Regions from separate parts of the Homo sapiens genome. Here region 2 is linked to region 1. Evidence: promoter capture Hi-C in human tissues and cell types (Jung and others, 2019). All regions are on one chromosome and are shown on one strand. The core of a region is centred on a gene start or on the middle of the fragment in contact, and the rest is flanking DNA. Distances in the headings are between cores, read along the strand shown.

Region 1 (5,560 bases), core at 2,971-5,470:
CTTGGTGAAGACCAAGTCAGTGCAATGATACCTACCTACTGAGCTTGGTTATAAACATTTCGATTCCCGCTTTGGCTACAGGATCCTGATCCCCATTCTCATATCTCCAAATTCATGGACAAAGGTTTTTGAGAATTCGTAGGTTAGGAAAATGCTGCTTTCCTCTGACTCCTGAGGTTATTTGTTTGTTTATTTATGTCAGATGGGTAATGTGCCAACATCTTGACAAGATTTGAGGGCGGCACATCTTACGCATGCTCAGGAACACCCCATCATCATGCCCATGAACTACAAAAGGATCTGACTCCTAAGATCTGAGCTGGAGCCTACAACTCCTTGGAGCCTGTGCTTTTACCTGTGTGGCCATTGTTGTGCAGGTCCAAAGGCTCGGTGCCAGGCTGGTCATATCCGTGGGGCTGCAGAGCAGGCAAATCAGGGTCAAATGTCACACTGTCTGTCTGAATATCGATGGGCGACTGGGCATTGTTTCCACACTCAGGGTAAGAGGCTGGCCAATGGTCCTGACCATGTGGGCCTGGTGGGGGTTACCAAAGACATTGGTCCTGTCCTCCAGCTCTAGCTACCCTTCAACAGCACCCCCTCCCTTTGACCCTTCCCCTAACCAAGCCATACATCTGTGTGGAGGTAGAAATGGACTTCCCTCCACCCAGGTTAAGACCCCAGTTGTATAGGGATGGGTGAGGTAGGAGTCCTGTTGAGTCTCATGCTGCAGTTCCCCTTCCCTACCCAGAGGCAGTGATGATTCCCCAACTATCCTGATGAATGGGGAGTGGTAGCTCTTTTACTTACCTGTATTTTGAGGACAAGAAAGCTGAATGAGGGCAGAGGGGATGCATAGAAAACCTGAATACCCTGAGAGATGGGATTAGAGAGTAGGAGTAGAAAAATGGGAGAAATAAAATGATCCTAGATAGGCCAGGCACAGTGGCTCATGCCTGTAATCCCAGCACTTTGGGAGGCCGAGGCAGGTGGATCGCTTGAGGTCAGGAGTTCGAGACCAGCCTGGCCAACATGGTGAAACCCCATCTCTACTAAAAATGCAAAAATTAGCCAGACGTGGTGGTGGGCACCTGTAATCCCAGCTACTCGAGAAGCTGAGGCAGGAGAATCACTTAAACCCAGGAGGTGGAGTTTGCAGTGAGCCCAGATTGCGCCACTGCACTCCAGCCTGGGTGACAGAGCAAGACTCTGTGTCAAAAAAAAAAAAAAAAAAAAAAATAACCTAGAGAGATACGGTCTCCTGGAGGCCCCTATCAAGTGGCCTTGGGATTCAGATATCCTGACTTCTCATCATTCACTTCTTGCTCTCACACTGACCGTTTATCATGAACTTGAGTTTGGTTAAGTCATTAATCAGTAGTTCATAGGAACTGAGTTCCACCTCCCCCAGGGTCAGAAACTATCCTGCCAGCCTCTTCCTCACCCCTGACCTCCAGCTCTGTCCCAATTTCAGATGCAGGTTAGGGGTAGGATGGATTAGGATAGACGGAGCCAGAAGGAGACCTGGCAGCTAAGCTCAGAGTTCCCACCCAGCTTCCTTTCCACCCCAGCTCCCTCACTCCTACACGATTTACTGAGGACTTAACTAGCTTTTCTGCCAAATCAGGAGGTGTAGGATTTGATGATTAGAGCAGGATCTAGGAGCCATATATGTGAAACTCAAGGCAGGAGGAGATCCAGAAGGGAGGAGCTAGGGTGAGAAGGTAAAGGAAGTCTCCTCCCACCCGCACAGTGTGTCTTCCTGCCAGGTGAGGAGGTCCCAGTGTGAAAGGGTTGTCGGGAGGCCTTGAGATCTGCTCACCCTCATACGTCCAGTGTTGACCTGCAAGGCAGAATAGTTTGGGTTACAGCCAGCGCAGCCTGGGGCAGAACCCTGGCCTCCACACTCCCCTCCCTCTGGCATTCTGTACTGCTCCACCTCCCTCTCTGCAGTCTCTCCTCCCTCTGCTCCAGCACTTTGCAAAGGAAGCCCTGAAACCGGACACCTCTGTGGAAAGGTCGGGGGGCCTATTTAAAATCACCAGCCAGGCTGTGTTGGTGCCTGCCGAGTAAAAGGGGAGGAGGAAGGAAAAGAGGTAAAGCCCAGAGACTAAAATTAACCTGGATCCAAATGTGCGATTGGCCCAACCCTTTCTTTTCTGTAACCTGTGCCAAGTCAATCTAACACTTAGAAGATTGGGGTGGGTGGGGTGAGGGTGTGGGCAGAGGGTTGGAAGGATAGGGACTAGAAAGCGGGGAGGAGAAAGGAGTTTAGAGTGTGTGTGTGTTGGGGGGTGCTACTGAGGGGAGAAGGGGAGATTATTCCTTTGCTTTAAAAAATTGCATGAATAAAGCCACTGAGCTGTAAACTCATATGTAAATTCTTCTTTTCTGGTCCCATTAGCTCTAGAGGAAACTCCTCATCACCAGGAGGCTCTGCTCCCTACATTCTGAGATGGTTAGGGAAGGGTGGGAGTCAGGGCAGGGTCTACTCTAGATTGAGGGTGGTGGGTGGGCACAGGCAGCCAGGCTGGCAGGGACAGGATGAAAGTGAAGCATTGTGTGTAGAGAAGAGAGCTGCCAGCTGGGTCACATGCCAGGCTCTCGTGCAGTCCTGTCTGACGCAAAGGCTGAGGGTCTGCAGGTCCAGCCCCTCCCTACGGCCAAACTGCCTCAAGAAGAAAACGAAGGCCTTCATGGTTTATGCTGCAATATTCATACTACTAGAAACTCTGGAGAAAAATCCTAAATTCCTTCCTCTCTCTGTCTCTTATTCCCTTAAATTCCTCAAACTTGTGAGATGTCCTGCTCTTATCCTTGACCTATTCTGCTAGCCCAAGGGAGAGCTGGAGGCAGCCTCTCATTTTACCATATCTGTGGGACCCCCCAACAACTCAAACTCCCTGGTCTGTAAAGGTGCCTGTCCACTCTGGTCAGAGCCTCAACACACTTATTCTGTCTCTTCCTCCTCTTTCCCTCTTTTTTTCTTTCTCCTCAGATGAGATTTGTGACTCTCCATTTGGCTGCCTGCCTGCCCCCATCCTCTCTGCATTTGCCTTCTGCTCTCTGGACACCCACCTCACCCTGCTCTTTCCACAAACCTCAGTTACACACCTAGTATGTGCTGGACACTGTGCTAGGCACAGGAAACACAAAAATGAGGTCTAGGAGTTCCTGGGGACACTCCTGGAGCGCTTCAGCCTGTTCTCCCAAGAATCCCTCCTCATCTCCTGGGAGCTCCTGAAAGTCCTTTGTAAACTGTAAAATGTCAAACAAATGTTGACTCTTACTGCCACTTTCAGAGGATAACTGGGGAGTTAGTCGCTCCACAGAATGAAGAGGGAATCTTGGCCAAAAGGGGATGAATTGGAGATCAGGGTCTGAGTTGGGCAGGAAGTATTCTTCCCCCTACCCCCATCTATCCATCTTTTTACTCCAGGCCTCTTTGACTCCCTATTTGGAGGAGTTTGTAAATAAAGAAGTCCAGGAGTCCTGCCTGGGACCAGGGCAGTGGGGGAAAGAGCTCTGGAGAAAATCTGTAGCCTGCAAAGAGATTCCAGCACTTGCATGTGTACACACTCTGCCTGCCTGCCGCTAGTTCTCCCCGACCTCCAATAACAACAAGGCTGGAGAGACAAAAGGTAAAGAAGGGAAGTGGTCTCCTCCACACCCCACTCTTTTTTCCTCATCTCTGAGCCTATTATTCCAGCCTCTAGGCTTCCTTTCACACCTCTCCTCCCCCCATTAAGCACACCTGGCGACATGTGAACATCAGCACAAATCCACACACAGACATTTAGTTGTACCTACCCCCATCTGCAGCCAGGATCCAAATCACCTCCAGCAGGAGGGCGGAGAACAACATAGTGTCCCAGGAAGGGGTGCAGGGGACTGGGAATTTGAGGACTAGAGGACTAGGACAGGCAGAGAGAGAGGGAGGGAGGAGTGAGAGAGAGAGAGAGAGAGCGAGCGAGCTCCTGGCGTGAGTGTATTTATCTCTGCTTCTCTTGCTGTCTCTGTCTCTGTGGGCTTCCAGGGGATTCGGTGTTCAGTAGGGTATCATGGGTTTCTGGATCCCCAGGACAAATCTCTTGCTGCCTCTTTGCCCTCTCTCTTTATCTCCCTCTGCAGTCTCCACTCCACTAGCTGGCCAGCGACTTTACAACTGCCTCCTGCTTTTAAGGTGGCTCTGAACTGGTGTATGTGGGGACGGGGGTGCTGCCTGGGCTGCTGGTGAACAGCTCCTTAAATAGCCAATTAGGCATGCAGGATGGCCCCACTCGGAGCTGGAGCGCGGCAAGTTTCACTGGAGCCCTGGCCCTGGCTCAGGAGCCCAGCTGGGGTGAGCTCTTCCTTCCTCTGCTAGTCACACAGATGCTGTTTAGATGGGTGTTCCCTGGAGCAGGCAGGGTCAAGGAAGGGGCTTTGGGGTTCAACTCAGCCCCCTCAAAAGGACACTGTATTTTCATCCCCCCGCCTGATTTCTCCTCTGAGGAGCAGCTCCCTGGGTGGTATGCGGCAGATGGTGGGGGTACCTGTTCCCAATTCCCTGCATAATCTGAGCTGCCCTGGAATGGGAAGAGTCCAGAATTAGGAGATATATAACAAGAAGGAATTAGGGACTCAGGGTGCAGGGGAGGGGTGGAGGAAGTCAATAACTAAAACCTGAGTTGTGTCCTAAGTTCTAAGGAAGAGAAGTGAGGCAAGGAGAACTCATCTGGAGCAATCTCTTCTGTGCCTGCCACCACCCCCTTCCCACGGTGAGGCCTGGGTCCACGTGCCTGTGTGGCCTGGGGTGGGGGGAGTGCGGGGAGGGAGCGTTGTTTGCTGGATAAAGCCCATTTGTATGCCCAGTGGGGGAGGGGTGTAGCAGCACCATGGAGAGACAGCGGCTGTAACTGCCAGACCCAGCCACCTCCCTCTCCAGGGAGCCCAGATCTAGGGCGGCTTTTGTCACTGAAGAGGACACTGACCTCCGGCAGAGAGGCCAGGGCAGGAGGAAAGGAGAGACTTTAGGAACAATCACTACCACCATCAGAAAAAGGTGGTTTCCAGAGAAAGAGAGGGGAGGGTCTGGAGAGACCATGTGATCCAGATGGAAGAGGGGCTCAGGGTCTTCCTTCCAGCCCAACAAAGGGCTGAGGCAGGACATGTGGCACTGAATGAAACCTGCCACCAAGGAGCTGCGTCCGTGGAGCATGGAGGCTGCACGTCTCAGGAATGTGAACTGATGTTTGCTCCCCACGGGACTGGAAATCCCGATTGGAATGTACATCCTAAATCCCTCGTTAGAGAATGTGAAACCCACAGATACTTTCAAGCCAGACATTGAAACCTCTTTCTCCTCCATGCTCTTCACCAGAGGCACCAGCCAGGAGGATGCACCCATCTGAAGCTCCCTCTGCCCTCCTTGCTCCTGCCGAGTAGCAATAAATAGCCAAACAAAGGGAGCAGAAGCTAAATAAGGGAGCAGGATAAAAGCCAAATGAACAGAATAATGCATGTGCTGGATCATCAGCTCCTGCAGAGACAGGAGCTCACTGTGCCTTTCTATCCCCTG
Region 2 (5,349 bases), core at 2,396-4,895, 250 kb after region 1:
ATCTTTTTATACGTACTACGTAACGCTTTGCTTAGAAATTCACATGCTGCTAATTTTTCAGTCTTTGGCCTCTAGTACTGTATATTTAGGAGATTTTTGAGGAGGCTGGATCCCTTTGTCTTTCAGAATCTATTTCAAAGGTGGAAAAGGACAGAGTAGAGAAAGAGGTGGCGGTAAGACTGGCTCCAAAGAGTTGCTAACCCCTAAATATTTAAAAAAGTTTCTATGCTATGTAACTTCTGAAAACATGTAGAAAATTTTCTTCCTACTAAATGAGATTGCATTCCTGATGGGGAGAAGACTTCAGGGACGGAAGCTGGGTGGCTAGGGAGAATCAGAGGTAGTTAAATATTTGCTGTGTATAACTTACAAATACATTATGCGCAAACAATGAAGAATTAATTATACGCTTTGTCTTCATTGTTTTTCAAGTAGTTCTTTTAACGTTCAGTAACCAACCTGCTGTGCTAGTCTATTGATATTTTGAAGGCTGAACAAAACTGTAAAATAAATGAACTTGATGTTGCTCCTCTGCAGGCTGAATACCCCCGACCGTTCTAATTTCCACTATTGACCCAGCTTGCCTCAGAGCACCTCCCTGACAAAGTGGCCAGTTACTATGTACTTAGAGATTGCAAATCAATGCAAATATTAGCTCATACTAGGAATAATTAAGAAGGTAAATATGCTGAAAACATATATTCCAAAACCAAAATAGATTTTTTCGATTTTACCCTCATTTTTGATTATCACCACCTTTCTGCCAATAATTATCCGTTAACATGAATAATTTAGAATTGAACAGATATCTGCTTTGGACATTACACTTTCAAGATAGAAGGAAAGATGGAAGGAAGATAGTGCCAAACTAATTTTTTATTGTCATTGCCTTATTTGACTTATTCCTTGCTTTTAATACTGAAGACTCCCTCGGAAAAAAATGTAAAACTTTGCCAAAGCAAGAGCTGGCTATCTACTGACTTGTATAAGGCCCGGTGACTGGTAATGAATGCTAATCATTAGGTGGCCTTTAGTGGCCTTATGTTGCCAACAACTTGGAAAATTTCCCAAAGCTTTATTTGTTTAATCTTTCTTTTGAGACCCCTATTTAAAAAACGACTTAATTTGGAGACGAAAATCTAATTTTTAAAAACCACATACACCTTTCCCAGAATCTGTTGATGATCAATAATTGTTTTGATCTGTGTGAGTTGATTGGTGCCAATATTAGTGATGATATCTGGGTAAATTCTATTTATATCTGCATCTAGCAACTCCCTAAGTTGAACTGCATACTTTATTCCAGGGCATGGGGATCAAAGGGGTTGAAGAAGCCTAGGAATGAGTGGAGAGCTGCCTGGTAGTCCACCACTATTCCTAGTTCTCAGGAGGCTTTATTTGCAATTTTGAGATTCAATGTATGTAACCAAAATAAGTATTCTGATTGTTATGAGGGCACTAAGTGCCACTTGTCAAAGTTTTGGAGCTCCTGAGTATCTTAAGCATGCTAAAAGACACTGGCCATTATAGTGTGGGTGTATGTGTGTATGAGTAGCACTCTCCTTACCCTAAACACTCATCCCACCAAAGGGAAAATCCTTAAACAGCGCTTTGAAATGTGACCTCAGCAGTATCTTTCCTATGGGAACTTAGGAGCTGTGGAATAGCAGACTGTGGAATCTTTTTTGTAGCCTCTGATAAATTCAGGTAATTAAAAATTTGTGTAACTGGAAGATAGATACAGGGCAGTTTTTCTCATGAATGCCTGAATTCAGTTGACTTTTTAATATAATAGAAGAGAGTTGTTTGTTTGTTTTTAAATAAGACATCCTTGCTGAGTAATGATTGAACACTTCTCTGGATAAAGCAGTCTCCATGCTCCAGTGACAGGCTTTAGGGAGGTATAAAAGATGTAAAGACATGTGTCTTTGCTCTTGGGGTTGAGGGTGGATGGGAAAGGTGGTGTATAAATATGGGAAGGCAGACTATTATGAGCTTTAACATTTAGGAAACAACATATAGACAAAAGCAAATTTAACGTGCTGATAAGTATGTAAGGGCTGAGAAGACTTAAAGTAACAAAGTAAGAATCAGTGAAATAAATTGGGGAGATTTCTGAGTCAGTAAATTTTGAAATGGACTTGGGAGGCTATGGATGAGTCATAAAGAGGTATGGGCTATTGAGTTAGATGGGTCTTCGTTCAGACCTTGCGGCTATTTTTTACCATGTGACCTTGGACAAGTTAACTTCTTTTCCTTATCTGTAAAATGTGAGCATTCAAGTAAATGAAATAGTTACTGTGTTGGGAATAAAAGAAAAGAAAGGATCTTCCAAACAGAAAGTATAGAATGTACAGTGTGCAATGATGATATGAATGACTAAGTTGTGAGTGGGGGGAATATATGAGAGTGACTGTAGAGAATGTGGGTTGGGCAAGTCATGAGTAGAGCAGGCAAGAGGGTGGAGGGGACTCAGAAGCCAGACTCTGTTGGGTGTTGATAGAAGGGTCAATAGAATCATTGTAGGTCCTTGAACAAAGGACGGATTTAATGAGAAATATTGAGCCCTTTGGTTCAGGAACTCAGGGACAAGGAATCAGGCAGGCATCCGTACATTGTGACTCTTATTTTCTGTACCATCCTAACCTGAAGGGATACAGCCAGGAGGCATAAGATTCCTTGTAGAAGTTTTTGTGTTTACACACCTTACTATGCTGAGCCTGCTTGTTCCTGTCTCGTAGTGCACCAACCTGTGGGGAAGTCTCAAGACTATGGCCGGATTCTCCTCAAGAGCTTATAGTAAGGACAGCATTATGTTTCAAGTGCATTTAACTCTCAGTTGTCTCTGCTAATGTAGGGAGCACTGTTGTAGGTAATTCAGAACTTAACAAAGACATTTCCTGGTTATTTTCAACTGTGTTTTTTTTAGGATTATACCTTATCCCTTTATTTCCTCTAAGAAATAGTTTTAGATAAGAAAAATTACTAAACTGTTATTTGTAGTGACCCACTATGAGTTTAATTCTTTGCTAGGTGCTATGGAGGTTTAGGAAAAATGACAACTTTGCTCCCAGACTGAAGTACAGTGGCGCAATCTCAGCTTACTGCAAGCTCTGCCTCCCAGGTTCATGCCATTGTCCTGCCTCAGCCTCCCGAGTAGCTGGGACTACAGGCGCCCACCACCACGCCCGGTTAATTTTTTGTATTTTTAGTAGAGACGGGGTTTCACCGTGTTAGCCAGGATGGTCTTGATCTCCTGACCTCGTGATCCGCCTGACTCGGCCTCCCAAAGTGCTGGGATTACAGGCGTGAGCCAGTGTGCCGGGCCGAAAATACATTATTTTTTAAACTAGATTTATTTTCATTTTTGGGGATCATACTAATATTGAAATAAATTTGCATTTCTAAGCTTATATTACCTGATGGTGGGGAGAGTACACTGATGATGAAGAACAGTCATTCTTGCATTAAAGATTTGGCCTTAGAAATCCGTAAAATGAATAATCCATTTGTAGATAATTAAGACTAGACTACACTGAATATGTTGATAGACCAATTTCTTTTCAAAATCTGTATGGATCCAATGTGGCCTCCTAGGCTGTCTGTCTTATGTCTGAGAATGACTGGCAGGTGATGCTTGTGTTCCAGCCAGAATGAGCCTTCATTCACAGTATCTGGACGAATGCCACTACATTATGTTGTGTTGTTGAAGATTAAGCCGGCTTTCTCAAAGGACTTGTGCTTTGTAGAGGCTCTTCCAGATATCAGCTTCATTGAAAATCTGTCAGACTTTTCCTCCTGTAGGAAAGTTGTTTGAAAGTATGTCCAATTAAAAAAAAAAGGAATGGGCAGAAGTGTCCACATTTAAGAAGTAAACAAAATCACATGCCATTCTTTCATCCCTTTTTTTTCTTCTCCAGTTGACTTGCTTTTCTCCATCCCTGCCACTCTCCCCCACCTCTTTATAATCATTACCAAACTGATGTCACGAGCACAGGATTATTATTTACTTCTTGAGTCAGGAGATTGTAGTATTTCTGAGCTAGAAATCAGGTGGAAAAGTCAGGAATCTTATTTTATACAACTAGATAGGGATTATTTTCAACTGTGCTTTTTTTAGGATTATACCTTAGCCCTTTATTTCCTCTAAGAAATAGCTGTAGATAAGAAAATTACTAAACTGTTATTTGTAGTGACCCACTATGAGTTTAATTCTTTGCTAGGTGCTATGGAGGATTAGGAAAAATGACAACTTTGTGTCCTTGAAGAGTTTACAGTCCAGTTGGGAGTAAGAAGAATAAAAAGGAATGAATACTTGCTGAGCCTCTTAATATGCCACACAAAATTTTAAAATGTGAAACTATATTGTTAGTTGCATAGTGCAGACCTCATACCGTAGGTATTTGGGGAGAGGAGTACTCAGGTAGTTATGTCACAGAGGAATTATAACTCATTTCAGATCTTAATAAAAAAATAGGCCAGGCACAGTGGCTCACGCCTGTAATCCCAGCTACTCAGGAGGCTGAGGCAGGAGAATCACTTGAACCCAGGAGATGGAGGTTGCAAACAGCCGAGATAGCACCACTGCACTCCAGCCTGGGTGACAGAGCAAGACTCTGTCTCCAAAATAAATAAAAAAATAAATGAATAAGTGTTATTGTATTAGGTACAAGGGATGAAGATGAAGAGGATAACAAAACATTTCATATTGGAGCTGAAAGGGATCAAGCGAAAGCCTGGAAACAGGACTATACCTGAGATGTTCTTGGGGCGGTGAGGAGACTAACCTGAGTGGCAGTGAGCAGTAGTGAAATGAAGGTGGGTAGGTTGGTTTGGAGCTATGTTTATAGAGGGTGTTAAAAAGCTAGGCTTATAAGTTTATATATATATATAAAATTTATTTATTTATTTATTTATGTATTTATTTATTTATTTTTTTGAGACAGGGTCTTGCTCTGTTGTCCAGCTCAGGCTGGAGTGCAGTGACACAATCTTGGCTGACTGCAACCTCCGCCTCCTGGGTTCAAGTGATTCTCGTGCCTCAGCCTCCTGAGTAGCTGGGATTACAGGCGTGCACCAGCATGCCCAGCTAATTTTTGTATTTTTAGTAGAGACAGGATTTCACCATGTTGGCCAGGCTGGTCTCAAACTCCTGACCTCAAGTGATCCGCCCACCTTAGCTTCCCAAAGTGCTGGGATGACAGGCATGAGCCACCGTGCCCGGTCAACTTTATATTTTAAATGGTAGAAGATTTTTGAATAGAATAGCAGTATGATGATACTAATACACAGGTTGGCTGGGAGGGAATGGAGATTGACACTGGGGGTGTGTGAAGTGATGAGGCCCGA

The links. The method cuts DNA at HindIII sites, captures the fragments that hold promoters and counts their contacts. A contact is called where the count stands out against the background at its distance.
Region 2: a contact is called between a fragment that was not itself captured here and the fragment with the promoter of CA14 in region 1, in 5 of the 25 tissues and cell types used here (dorsolateral prefrontal cortex, hippocampus, lymphoblastoid cells and 2 more).

What each region holds. Positions count from the first base shown.
Region 1 is chr1:150,256,434-150,261,993 of GRCh38, reverse strand. CA14 (carbonic anhydrase 14) reads right to left here and starts at 4,220. Exons shown (of 11, transcript NM_012113.3): 1 at 3,811-4,220; 2 at 1,823-1,843; 3 at 356-535. The coding sequence starts at 3,865. It overlaps SNORD13C (small nucleolar RNA, C/D box 13C), which reads right to left and starts at 300; the gene lies at 197-300. RefSeq lists an enhancer at 5,336-5,560. The HindIII fragment of the contact is 12,121 bases long and covers 1-5,560 here.
Region 2 is chr1:150,004,155-150,009,503 of GRCh38, reverse strand. All of the region lies in intron 1 of OTUD7B (OTU deubiquitinase 7B), which reads left to right. Among named protein-coding and RNA genes, the nearest start is that of OTUD7B, 3.9 kb to the left of the region's middle. RefSeq lists an enhancer at 1-33. The HindIII fragment of the contact is 6,747 bases long and covers 272-5,349 here.